2 separate regions of the Homo sapiens genome follow, and region 2 is linked to region 1. The links are contacts of gene promoters, found by promoter capture Hi-C in human tissues and cell types (Jung and others, 2019). All regions are on one chromosome and are shown on one strand. Each heading gives the region's core, a stretch centred on a gene start or on the middle of the fragment in contact. The rest is flanking DNA. Distances are from core to core; before and after follow the strand shown.

Region 1 (7,210 bases), core at 3,617-6,116:
CAAAGTGCTGGATTACAGGCGTGAGCCACCGCGCCTGGCCACCCACTTTTGTATGTATGTAAATGGCAAAAGGTCCCAAGATTTAGGAGGAAAGCCTTTTATACAAAACATAACTTTGAAGAAACAGATTATGCAACAGAGGGAAACTTTAAAACACCACTAGTAATGTATTCTAGGAAATAAGATATTGCAGCATGGAAGAATTCAAGAATGCCATAATTAAGCTATAGCCAGAAAACAAAAGAGAGCTCTTAGAAATTAAATTTATAATAGAAGAAATGAAAAGTTCAATTCAATGTTTGACAGATACGCGCAGGAAAATCTTCCAGAAAGTAGAACCAAACAAAACAAAATGAAAAATGAAGCCTGGGCGCGGTGGCTCACGCTTGTAATCCTTGCACTTTGGTAGGCCGAGATGGGTGGATCACCAGAGGTCGGGAGTTTGAGACCAGCCTGACCAACATGGAGAAACTCCGACTCCACTAAAAATAACAAAATTAGCCCTGCGTGGTGGCACATGCCTGTAATCCCAGCTACTCGGGAGGCTGAGGCAGGAGAATCACTTGAACCCAGGAGGTGGAGGTTGCAGTGAGCAGAGATCGTGCCATTGCACTCCAGCCTGGGCAACAAGAGCAAAAAAACTCCGACACACACACACACACACACACACACACACACACGCCGGGCGCGGTGGCTCACGCCTGTAATCCTAGCACTTTGGGAGGCCGAGGCGGGCAGATCACGAAGTCAGAAGATTGACACCATCCTGGCTAATACGGTGAAACCCCGTCTCTACTAAAAACACAAAAAATTAGCCGGGCGAGGTGGCGGGCTCCTGTAGTCCCAGCTACTCCGGAGGCTGAAGCAGGATAATGGCGTGAACCCGGGAGGCGGAGCTTGCAGTGAGCGGAGATCCCGCCTCCCGCCACTGTACTCCAGCCTGGGCGACAGAGCGAGACTCCGTCTCAAAAAAAAAAAAAAAGAAAAAAGAAAAGAAAAATGAAAACATAATCTGAGAAAATTAGAGGAACAGTCCAGGAAGTCTAGTATCTGAAAAATAGGGTGTCCAGAAGAAAAAAAAAACGGAGAGAAAGTCTTCAAAGGAATAATTAGTAGAAGAGATCATTTCCCAGTGTTAAAGGACATGAGTTTCTTTGCTGAATTGCAAAGTTACAACAGGTGTTCCACACAAAAGATGACAATGAAACATGCCCAGACACATCACTGTAAAATTAAGAAAAATGAGAAGGTGGGGCACAGAGAGGAACATCCTGAAGACTTCAAGAAAGTAAAAAACAAGTTACACACAAAAGATTAACAAATCAAAAGGGCACTAAGTGTCTGGAGATTGGGAATGAACACAGGGTTCACCACACAAAGTGCCCCAGATGTAAGATCTGAACCTCACTAATTCCCCTTTCTCACCACAACCTCCACTTCTGTTTTTCACCTTCTTTGTAATATTTTAATTCATTAATCTCATCTTGAACTTACTTGCCTTTAGCTTTTCTTTATTCCTGCCCAGAAAAGCACATCCAGAGATTCAAAGGCAACAATAAAAAGCAGGGCTTAAGAGTGTGGGCTCTGCATTATCCAAAGCAAACTTGTCACAGAGAAAACCTCAAAATCAGGGTTCAGCCTGAGTGGCCATGTGGGTTCTCAGCTTCATGCAGGAAGGAATTCAAGAGCAATCTGACAGAATAAAGTGAAAGCAAGTTTGTTAAGAAAGTAAAGGAATAAAGAGTGGCTACTTCATAGGCAGAGCAATGGCAAGGACTGCTAGACTGAGTATATTTATGGTTATTCCTTGATCATATACTAAACAAGGGGTGGATTATTCATGAGTTTTCCAGGAAAAAGGTGGGGAATTCCTGGAACGGAGCGTCCTCCCTTGTTAGACCATGTAGGGTAACTTCTCTAAGTGGGCATGGCAAGGGGCAAACTGTCAAGGTGCTGGTGGGAGTGTCTTTTAGCATGTTAATCCATTGTAATTAGCATATAATGAGCAGTGAGGATGGCCAGAGGTCACTTTGGTCACCATCTTGGTTTTAGCAGGTTTCAGTCCTCTTCTTTACCTATCCTGTTTTATCAGCCAGGTCTTTATGATCTTATCCTGTGAAATCAGTCCTGCCAACCTCCTATCTCAAACTAACACAGGAAAGAAATAAAATACTGTGTGTTCTCACTTATTAGTTGGAGCTAACATTGTGTACAGGTGGACACAAAGAAGGGAACAATAGATACTGGGTACTACTTGAGGGTGGAGGGTGAAAGGAGAGTATGGATCAAAAAACTACCTATTGGGTTCTATGCTTATCACATGGGTAAGGAAATAATCTGATCCCCAAACCCCCGAGACACTCAATTTACCTATATAACAAACCTGCACATGTACCTCTGAACCTAAATTAAAGTTTAAAACAACAACAACAACAACAAAAACCCGAAGAAAAGTATGGGCTCTGGTGTCAAATTACCAGGGTTAGAACCATGAATTAAGTGTGACCTTAGAAAGTCACTTATACTTTCTAAGCCTTGGTTATTTCATCTGTAAATTAAAGGTGATGATAACAGTCCCAATTTAGGATCAAATGAGATATTGCAATGCCGGACACATTAAAAGTGTCTCCATGGGACTAGCCCAAACTGAGCCTACTCTGTTGATAACAAAATGTCGTGTTACCTTTTAGATGTAACAGAGCCAAAAACTGAAAGTCATGTAGCCCAGTCATGTGCAATAGAAAAAGCCTGGACCTCTAACAACACCCAAAACCAGTGAATCCTTTCCTTGGAACCAAGACCGGGACATGACTGGAACCTGAACTTGGAACTCTTTCAAAAGTGTTGGGTCCATTTGCCTGGAGGATCAGGCCTAAAATCGGCCTCTACGTACCTTTTTCTAAATGGTCAAATTTCAAGTCCTCCATTCTGCCTGCCAAGACACATTCCTAAATTCTTCCCTTGGCTTTCCAAGCCCATAAGTTTACCCCAGACTCTAAATCAGGGAAACAGATTTGAATGCACTCCTATCTCCTTGCTGACCAGTTGTGCAAATAAAGACTTTTTTTCCTCAAAAGCTTGTGCCACATAGTATTGGCTTCTGTGCATGCATTGGATAGAGAGCTCATTTGCTTGATAACAAAAACAAGCTATTAATACCTATTATTTCTATTATTATCCATACCTCTAGCTCCCACCATGTTAAATATTCCTATAACTTTCATTTCTACCTTAAAATTTTCTTTATCCAATAAGTTTTCGCTTAGAAGCTATCTACCACAGGTATCTTCCTTTAATATCACAACCGTCTACCCAGCCACCCAAATCAGAAACCTGGAAGTTATCCTTGATTCTGTTTGTTTACTTCCTATGTCCAAATAATAAAATTCTTATAATTCTTCTTCCTGAATAGCTCCTTTATTCATCCTCTTCTGCCTCTCCCTTCCTCCATGGCTCCAATTTAGACTCTAGATTTCTACCTTAGCCTCGCAAGTGGTCTCTAACTCTAAACGTTTCCATATTTTTGTCCAGGATTTTTTTTTTTTTTTATATAGGGTCTCTGACATCCAGGCTGGAGTGCAGTGGCACGATCATAGCTTATTGCAGCCTTTGGGCTCATTGACCTCCTGGGCTTAAGTGGTTCTCCCGCCTCAGCCTTCCAAGCAACCGGGACCATAGGCATGTGCCACCCACCCAGCTAATTAAAATAAATTTTATTTGTAGAGGTGGAGTCTCACTATGTTGCCCAGGCTGGTCTTGAATTCCTGGGCTCAGACAATCCTTCCACTGTGGCCTCCCAAAATGTTAGGATTAGAGGTGTGAGCCACAGCACCAGGCTTAGATTCCTTTATTCACAAAAGGTGTAAAGGTGATCTCATTTTATATACATGTCAACTAAAGAAAAAAATCAGGCTTTTAAAGACTCAAAGTTAGTTTTATTCGGAGTCTTACTGAGGAATGCAACCCTGGAGAGTCTTTCAAAGAGTTTATGTTATACTGGTCCAAAGCAGCTGTTCTGCCCCCAGTTTCTACATCAAGGGATGGAGTTCTGCATGTGCTCAAAAGTTACATTAAACGTGCTCAGAAGTTACGTTGGAGCAAAATCTCATCAAAGTTTTGTTTGGAGACTACATCTGGTTATAGATTACAGAGGCATAATCATTAATCCTGTCACACGTTATCTTACGTACAGGAAGAGGCAAGAGCTAGGATCGCTGACTGTATCTTTTTAAAAAATGAAGTGATTCAAGCAACAGATGTGAAAACTTGTGCTCTATCCTACTTATTGTCTTCAGGGCATTCTTCTGGAGGACTGCGTTCAGTCACTGAGTCAGGGGCTTTGTGAAATTTCGCTGGCAACAGAATGAGCAAACATGGTTTCTTCCGTTTCGTACTTTGTCTCGCATACATGATTTCCTATGCTCAAACCTGGCAGGAAAGTTTTTTTATTTTTTCAGTCTTTGAGCTATAGTAATCCTTCACTGGGTTTTAAGTCAGTGGGGTTTTTTGACATCAAATTGTTAAACTACAAGTCATGTTTCCTTTAACGTGAAAATTACCTAGTCTGAATAAATTCTGATGTAACTATAACTCGACAAATTATGATATTTTCAACTTACGATGGGTTTATTGCGGGGAGGGGGCAGCCCTATCGTAAGTAGAGGAACTCTATACACGTTTGAAAATATCGCTGGGCTCCAGGGTTAACCGGTCTCTAACCCATTCTTTACTGGACCTGCCAACTTCGCGCAGGGTTGGTAACCTAGCAACCAAGCAACACGAGCAGTGACTTCCGGTACCCGGACTTGGGTTGTCCAATCAGCTCAGCGAAGCCGCCGCAGAGGCTGATGGGGGGCTGGAGGCTGTGAGGCTTCCAGCGTCGGTACCATGGCGACGCGCGGTGGGGCTGGGGTGGCAATGGCGGTTTGGTCCCTCTTATCCGCCCGGGCCGTGACCGCGTTCCTTCTGTTGTTCCTCCCTCGCTTCTTACAGGCCCAGACCTTCTCTTTCCCTTTCCAGCAGCCGGAGAAGTGCGACAACAACCAGTACTTTGATATCTCCGCCCTCTCGTGTGTTCCTTGTGGAGCTAACCAGAGGCAAGATGCCCGAGGTAAGACGGTTTGCGGTGGGCCCTGGCAAAAGTAACACTCCCGCCTTGGTCGGCCCCTAGTCCCCGTAAATGGAGTTTCACCATGTTGATCAGGCTAGTCTCGAACTTCTGACCTCAGGTGATCCACCCGCCTCCGCCTCCCAAAGTGCTGGGATTACAGGCGTGAGCCACCGCGCCTGGCCCGAATACATGTATATTGTTTAGTGACGTAGAAATGTAAAATTTCCAGCAGCAGTTAAGTAGTTTAATAGTTTAGTTATACTTGCACTTAAAATGGTAGCAGCATAATACCAGCTGTGTGCCAGTGTAAGACCTCTACGTATAATAACTAATTTTGTACTCATACTAACCCTGTGAGGTAGGTACCAATTTTTTTTCTCCATTTTATTGTAGAGGAAGCCAAGGCAGAGAGTTTAGTAACTTGTTCAAGGTCATGCAACTGAGTAGGATTACTACGATTGGAACTCAAGAAGTGTATTTCTGGATTTGAACCCAGGCAGTACTGCCTCCAGAATCCTGCTGTTAATCACTATACTGCTTCTCAAGATCTTCAGACTTATTAAAAGTTTCACTATCTGGGAACTTTATTTTTATTTATCAAGGATAAAATTGGCTTTTTTTTTTTTTTTTTTTTTTTTAGGAACTTCATGTGTATGTCTACCAGGATTTCAGATGATCTCTAATAATGGAGGACCTGCTATTATTTGTAAAAAGTGCCCAGAAAACATGGTGCGCATAATTTATTTTAAAATAACTTACCTGTAAAAAGTAGTAAGTTAAATATCTTTATTTTTCAAAATATAATTTAATGTTTAATGTTTCCCCACAGACTTTAAAATTACTATGCTAATTTTATTTTTACTAGAGTAAGTTTTGGGAGATCAGCGAAATTTCATGCAAACTTGGAGAAAACAGAAATGTATTTCTTTTAAAATCTGAAATCCAAAAACCACAAAGCTGTAAAAATTTAAGTTTTTGTTTTTACTCGTAGAATAACTCGGTTATGAAGAAAATTAGATGAATAAGGCATATATAGAGCAGTCTGGGATGTGTGCAATTTGGGATGTGTATATTCTTTTGACTGATGCAAGTGGAGTTGTCTTAGACCTACCATGTCAACAGTTTATATGATTATTGATGTTCATAATGATATCTAAGGTGTAATTATTTCATGAAATACCAATTGCATTAATAGATTAAATAATGTCTGTTTCTGTTTTGTTAGTAATTTCATTGTATCGTAATTTAAAAAAAATTAGTAAATAGTTACTATATATAATTCTCAACATAAATATATTTTTCAATCATGTTGGATAATTAAAAGTCTGTGTAACAGTTGTGACATTTACAGTAATGTTTCTTCTCATTGTCATATAAAAAATATTAATTCTGGGAATTTAATGTGAAGTTATCAATTGTCCCAATTTATAGCTATCTGTATTACTTGTAAGTCTGATTACCACTTTTTATATTACCATTTATTTTATATCTTTATAATAGATTATAATAGATTACCATTTATTTTATATCTTTGCAAATATTGATCCTAGCTGAATTACCCATGATAAAAAGCTGCTAATAAAAAGTGGTCTCGCAGCAGATTTCTTTTTCAGTGACATTGTTTAAGTTATTGTAATTTTTAAATTGTCCTGTATAGGCCAGGCACAGTGGCTCATGCCTGTAATCCCAGCAGTTTGGGAGGCTGAGCCTGGTGGATCATGAGCTCAGGAGTTTGAGACCAGCCTGGCCAATATGGTGAAACCCCATCTCTACTAAAAATACAAAAATGAGCTGGCTGTGGTGGCGCGTGCCTGTAGTCCCAGCTGCTTGGGAGGCTGAGGCAAGAGAATCGCTTGAACTCAGGAGGCAGAGGTTGCAGTAAGCCAAGATTGCACCATTGCACTCCAGCCTGGGTGACAGAGCGAGACTCTGTCTCAAAAAAATAAATAAAATATAAATAAATAAATAAATAAATAAATAAATAAATAAATAAATTGTCCTGTATAAATGTATTGCCAAATATAGGAGTATTTCTTGATAAATTCAGTCTTTTCAACCAAAATTTAAAATAATTTGTGGCATTATTTTTGTTCTTTATAA
Region 2 (7,210 bases), core at 3,077-5,576, 480 kb after region 1:
ACCAGAACCTCTCCTGCTAAAGAGATTTGTAGATGCTTATGGGAGCAAGAATTGCCCAACCTACCACACTCTCTAGGCAAATGTCATCTGTTGGAGATTCCGACTGAGGTCCTGGAAGGGCTCCCACATGGGCCATCTGCCAGGCCTCTGATGTCGGCCAACTGCCAAGCTTAGGCTAACGGTTGCTTGTAGTTGGTGGCAGAGCTATTCCAAAGAACTACTGAGATGCAGGCAACTGATGACAGGGCTGCTCTTTTGTCTCTCTAGCTGGCCCCGCACAGTACCCTAAGCGACCCACTCCAGGGCTCCCCTTGGGAAACCATGTCCGTGGATCATGCTTAGCACTGCCCTTGTTCTAGCCGTGCGTGGTGGCGCGTGACCGTAATTCCAGCTACTCAGGAGGCTGAGGCAGGAGAATTGCTTGAACCCGGGAGGCGGAGGTTGCAGTGAGCTGAGATTGCACCACTGCACTCCAGCCTGGGTGACAGAGCAAGACTACATCTCAAAAAAAAAAAGGATAAAAAAGAACTGCCCTTGTTCATGGCTGGATGTTCAGAGGGTGGAAAAATGGAAAAGGTGGTTGTTATAGAAGCACTTGAGCTGTGTGCTTTTAAAGTTTGGGTTGGGATTAGTTCTGGGAACGTGGTCTACCTTCTTTCTTCCTCCTGTGCCCTCTTTCGACCCACCCCACAACTTTGTATATCAAATGGCAAAAAGAATCCTATTCCTGCCTTAGTTCATTATCTGACCTTCAGTAGGACCAGAGGCCTGGGAAATGGGGGCGAGGCCGAGTGTGTGGTAGAACCACAGGCATTCTAGATGCAGACATGAGTGAGAATCACACCCCAGTCCATGGCATGTCACCCACCTGGTACTTCAGAGGAAGCTAGTTCTGCCACGGCCACCTCCTAGTGAAAGCGACACAGGAGGGCCTGCCTTCCCCTCTGCAGTGCCTCTCGCTGCAAACACTTGACCAGTGCACATTTGCCAAAGTTCTGAATGTCAGAGCCAAGCTGAAAACCAGTGCAAGATCAGTCCATCTAAGTCAAGGCAGCTATGTGCATGTCCTAAATTATAGTTGCAGAGGGGTAATCCCAGGCTGTTTAGTACAAAGATAATGATCAGAAACTAGGAAAATGGTTGCTTTAATTCAAAAACCACATTGCTAGCAATAAGGTGATAACCATGACAAGATTCCTGTACAGAGGGTCCTGCACCAGGAAAAAGATAACATTAACTCATTCCGATCTGAAAGCATTAGCCATGATGTACTTACTATTATTACTATTTTCTAGTGAGGAAACTCTGACCTAAGGAGCATAAGTAAACTTCCACAAAGTAACTCAGCTAGTGAATTGGTACCACCAGGATTTGAAGCCAGGAAGTCTGATTCCCAAGTCTAAAAACGTAACCACTCTATTATATGGCATTCTGATTGTATAATGTTTTTGTGCTTATGAGGCATTGTCAGGCCTGCTGTCTGTTGAGATTTATCATTTTTTTAATTCCTCCATCTTATTTTGCGTAATAGTATCACATCCATTGGTTTATAATAAAGACTATAATAAAATTGTATGTCTTCTGGCCAGGCATAGTGGCTCACGCCTGTAATCGCAGCGCTTTGGGAGGCTGAGGTAGGAGAATTGCTTGAAGCAAGGAGTTCAAGTCCAGCCTGGGCAACAAGGCGAGACCCGTCTCTACTAAAAATTTAAAAAAAAAAAAATAGCTGGGCACAGTGGTGTGCACCTGTAGTCCAGCCTGGGCAACAAAGCAAGACCCCATCTCTACTAAAAATTTTTTTTAAAAGCTGGGCACGGTGGTGCACGCCTGTAGTCCCAGCTACTTGGGAGGCTGAGGTGGGAAGATTGCTGGAGCCCAGGAGTTTGAGGCTGCAGTAAGCTAGGATTGTGCCACTGTACTCCAGCCTGGGCAACAGAGAAAGACCCCATTTATTTAAAAAAAAATGAATGTTTTCCAAATATTTTTATAATTTAAATATTTTCCCACTAAATAAGATCTTATCTGTGCCATTTCTCTATAATTTTCCACATACATGGCTTTTACTGGGCCGAGGAGGCTACTGAAAATATGAGATCACATACTCACAAGGGATGTGGGTACTCCTTCCCTGACACCGTGTTGCTTCTTTTAGGTCACATTAAGGTTTAGTTTCTTTCAAGACTGTTACTATTTTATCAGAAATTAAGACCTTAAATTAAGTACTAATTCATTTTCACATCTCAGTGAATGAGATGAAAGGAAACTGAAGTGAGATTTGGGTTTTCTGGTTTTCACTTTTGGGGAGAGATTTTTTTTTAACATGGGGTCTTCCTGAAGTCATACCATGGAGGTAATCTCATTCAGGGTCTGTAGGTAGGTGAGCAATCTGTTTCAAGATGAAAAGAAATTGTATAGGGTTTTAAAAGATGTCATTCCAATGCCTTAAACAGTCCTCACAGTGTTATAGGCAATACTGTGACCTGACTCTTCACATGGTTGCTGTGACATCATAACTTTTTTTTTTTTTGAGATGAAGTCTCACTCTTGTCCCCCAGGCTGGAGTGCAACGGCACAATCTCAGCTCACTGAAACCTCCGCCTCCTGGGTTCAGGAGATTCTCCTGCCTCAGCCTCCCGAGTAGCTGGGATTACAGGCACCTGCCACCACGCCAGAACAATTTTTGTATTTTTAGTAGAGACAGGATTTCACCATGTTGGCCAGGCTGGTCTCGAACTCCTGACCTCAGGTGAACCACCTGCCTCAGCCTCCCAAAGTGCTCGGATTACAGGCATGAGCCACTGCGCCCGGCCTGTCATAACATCTTTAAGCCTCAGTTTTCTCAACTACAAAATGGAGCCAGTAATATCTACTTCTTGAGTTTAGTAAGATGTTACTAAAATACTAAAGACGGCCAGGCAAGGTGGCTCATGCCTGTAATACCAGCACACTGGGAGGCCAAGTCAGGTAGATCACTTGAGTCCAGGAGTTCAAGACCAGCCTGGGCAACATGGTCAAACTCCATCTCTATAAAAAATACAAAAAAATGTAAGACAGGCGTGGTGGCATGCACCTGCAGTCCTGGCTACTTGGGAGGCTGAGGTGGGAGGATCACCTGAGCCCAGGAGGCTGAGGCTGCAGTGAGCCATGATCACACCATTGCACTCCAGCGTGGGTGCCAGAGTGAGACCTTATCACAAACAAAAAAGACCTAACACAACTCCTGACACAGGATGCAAAGAATAACAGCTGCAATTTCCACGATTTCCCTAGTCAGAGCTCTACCAATCACCAGCTGCCTGACTTCGAATGTGCTTAACTCTTCTAGATTCGGTTTCCTTGTATGTGTATTTAAATGTCAAAGGGTCCTGCTGACTCAGACTCCCTGTAATTCCAAGATGTCCTCTGTCCCCCTGCCCCTACCCAGTGTGCTGCTGGCTTCCCCCACGGGCTGGCACTCAGACCTGGCCTAGGCTCCTGTTAGCAGATTTTCACATCTTTGCCCACATCTACTATTTCCAAGACATCTGCACTGAGCTAAGTATGCCCGTCACACACTACTCAAGCACTTGCACAAGTGTGAGGCACACAAAACGAATGTTGGGCTGAAGAAAACTCAACTTGGAAAAGAAAGGGGAGACACAAGTTTGCCACAGAATTTTCTTAATGTTCTTAATAATCTACAGTTGGCAGAGCTAAGGGTTCCCCCAAGCAGTGGAAGTGTCTCTTTTGCATTCTTCCAACACTAGCATGCCCCAGCCCAGAATAAAGGCAGCACCACCTCTCTACCCATTGTCATCACATTTGCTTGGAAACTGGACCAAAGAGTAAAGCAAACTGAGGATAAGCTTAGTAAACCATGGGATGCTGAATGAATAAAACAGGAATGACACGCTATCCACTGCTTACGGAACACTTACTGTGCATCTCAGTATAACCATGTAGACATTTCACCCTCACAACAATCCTATGATGTAGGTAGCTATTTATGAAGAAGGAATTTTAATTATCCTCATTTTCAGATGAGGGAACTGAGGCAGAGAGAGGGGAGGTGACCCATCTTCAGAATCCTTCTTCACCACAACATTATACTGCCTATGATAGCAGGAGTAACAATGATGATAGCTTATATGTAGTGAGCACCTGAAATGCACTGGATGCTTTATCAATGGAATAGGAAAAAGGAAACTGTTCGTGTAAAGAAAAACAAAAAATAAAAACAGCTTGTAGATGTCCATATTTTAGGTGAGAAATTCATCTCAGAGGTACATGGTGTTTTAATGTATTCCAGTAGTTTTCAACCCTAGCTACACTTTAGAACAACCTGGGGACCTTCTAAGCAATAGCAATATCTAAAACCTACCCCAGACCTGGGTGTGGAACCCAGATATCAGTAAATTTTTTAAACTTTGCAGATCACTCTTGTGCCCAGCGTGTTGAGAACCACTGGTTTACTTCGTTCAAACACACTTAGGATATTTTTCAGTTGTGAACATGATTGGAAAGAAAAAAAATTGTCAACAAAGGAAAATAAATATTATACAATAATTTGGAGACTTCTTCAAAAAGAAAGAAGAGTCGGGGCCCATAGAATAGGCAGAAGATAATATTGGGAAAGAGCTCTAGTCCAGGTGGAGACACTGAAGATCCAGCAACAGGACAATAGGTGAGACCCTGACGGGGAAGACGGCATGGAAGGTTGCAAAAAGTGGATACAATACTTCACTACTTCTGTGGCCATGTCCTTTGCAATACGGCTTTGGAGCTTCTCCCATTCAAACATGGTGTCTATTTCCCCTTTCCTTGAATATGGGCTGACCCTGTGACTTGCTTTGACCAGCAGAATGCAGTGGAGTCCCAGTTCAAGCCCAGGTCTCAGAAATCTTGCATCACACTCACTCACCATGTCCACAAACAAGCCTAAGGCTCATCCGCTTCAAGTTGACAGACCACATGAACCAGAGCCCAAGTGTCCCAGCCAAGCCTCCAGACATGTGAGAGGGTCCCAGCAAGATTAGCAAATGGACCCACAGTTCATTGAAGACCCATATGAAAATCCAGCAGAAGCTGGAAGAGCCACCCAGCTGATCCTAAATTGCTAATACACAGGATTGTGATAACTGAGTTTGGGGATGATTTGAGGATGGTTATGTCGAATTAGCTAAATGGCCAGTGAGAAGGTGGAGAGACATAAGAGGGTAATGTCTAGCACTCAGTTTTAAGTTGTTATCTGATCTGGGCTGTAAACCCCCTTAAACCACCCCAAATAGGCCCAAATCTTCCATAAACACACAACCCTGGTGAATGATGCCTTTCCTAGTACATAGTGGAAGGGGAAGAAGAGGGAATACAGAAGGGAAGTCGTGGCAGGAAAGATGCAGAGGGGGCTTCACAGCTCCAAAGAGGCAGGAAACCAGGGTGGGAGGTTATCAGGAAGGAAAGCAAATCCCCCACAGAATTCCCAGAGCAGTGAGGGAGGGGAGATTGGACAAGCCAGAGCATGTGGAATGGGCCTTGGGTGAGTCTGTTGGGATATTAAAGAAAAGGGTGACACTGTCAGGCTGGAGGGCTAGAAACACACCTGCAGCAGACCCTTGCATCCAATCCTCATACCCACCATGACAGGGAGAGATTTATCACCCTCATTTTATAAGTGAGAAATCCAAGGATTGGAGAGGTTAAGTAACCTCCCCAGGATAACTCACCCGGGAAGTGGTGGAACCAGGTGTGCCTGACTCAAGCTCTCTGAGTAGATCTAATTAGCTGGTCAGAGTTCTGAATGTTTTTTCCCGGAACTCCAAACTCCCAGGCCCTCACTGCACTAGTGAATAGCGCGGAGGGGCGGGGGAGGGAATAACAGGAAAAATAAAGGAAGAAATTGTCAACAAAGAAAAATAAATGTTGTACATGAATGTGGAGACTTCCAAATTCTTATTTGAAGCGTGAATAAAGTGATCCCAAATCCTCAGATCCAGATTCTCCCATCCCAATCAGCCGCCTGAGACTTTTCACTCCAATGAGCACTCCTATTGGCTTCCTTAATTTCCCCTCCACTGTTTTCAGCAGAAGCCAGTGTGTCAGCTCCTGTGCTCACAACGTCCTCCCCCACCTGGCGGCACTGGTCCTCCATCAGGAGCTGAGAAGCAGCCTGGGGTCCCATGACTTACTGCAGTTACCCAATTCCTCCTCCCCAGAGTTTGTGCTCTGCTCCAAAGCGCAGAGAAGCCACACACACACACACGCTCACACACACGTACACACACACACCCTAACATACACACACCACACACATACACTCACCACACACTTCCACACACACCACACACTCGCACACACACATACATACAAACACTCATACACACACACTCATACAAACATACACACACACTCATACACACATACACACACACACAAGTGTTTGCTGCCCCTCACGTGGTACAGTAGGGAAAACCACGACACACTCGGGGTCACAGGGAGCATCTGAACCGAGAAGAGCCCGCCCCACAGCTCCTGCTTCCACCCCTCTCTGCGGACACAGAGTCAAAGTCATGTGGGTATCCTGGGAATTTCCCCCCTAAAAAAACTGTGGCCGGGCGAGGTGGCTCACGCCTGTAATCCCAACACTTTGGGAGGCTGAGGCGGGTGGATCACCTGAGGTCAGGAGTTCGAGACCAGCCTGACCAACATGGTGAAACCCCGTCTCTACTAAAATAAATAAATAAATAAAAATAAAAAAATTTTTAAAAATTGGACAGGCGTGATGGCACATGTCTGTCATCCCTATTTGGGATGGCTATTTGGGATGCTGAGGCAGGAGAACTGCTTGAACCCGGGAGGCGAAGGATATAGTGAGCCGAGATCGCGCCATTGCACTCCAGCCTGGGCGACAGAGCAAGACTCTGCGTCCAAAAAAATAAAAATAAAATAAAATAAAAAATTATGTTTCTTGAGGAGAAAAGACAAAAACAACTGCCGCTTGATTTCTCTTTCAAATTCCAAGAGAATAGGCTTCATTATACCGCCCCAGGTCGCCCGCAGGTGGGAAAGCGGACAGTTAAGCCCATTTCTTCCCCATCTGCTCGGGTTTTGTCTTGAGTATTTCGCACAGCTCCCCCATCCGCCCTCTGGCGCTTCAGAGTCTGGAGGAATCCCGAGCTGCGCCTCCCTCTCCCTGCATCCCTGGCAGAGAATTTCCCCTCCCAGCGCGGGGGAG

Evidence for each region. The method cuts DNA at HindIII sites, captures the fragments that hold promoters and counts their contacts. A contact is called where the count stands out against the background at its distance.
Region 2: a fragment that was not itself captured here is called in contact with the fragment with the promoter of TMEM67 in region 1 in 1 of the 25 tissues and cell types used here (bladder).

Annotation. Positions count from the first base shown.
Region 1 is chr8:93,750,028-93,757,237 of GRCh38, forward strand. TMEM67 (transmembrane protein 67) reads left to right here and starts at 4,867. Exons shown (of 28, transcript NM_153704.6): 1 at 4,867-5,110; 2 at 5,751-5,839. The coding sequence starts at 4,888. The HindIII fragment of the contact is 11,912 bases long and covers 1-7,210 here.
Region 2 is chr8:94,227,171-94,234,380 of GRCh38, forward strand. LOC105375648 (a long non-coding RNA gene) reads right to left here and starts at 919. Exons shown (of 3, transcript XR_928424.4): 1 at 869-919. RefSeq lists an enhancer at 6,726-7,210. The HindIII fragment of the contact is 4,638 bases long and covers 2,008-6,645 here.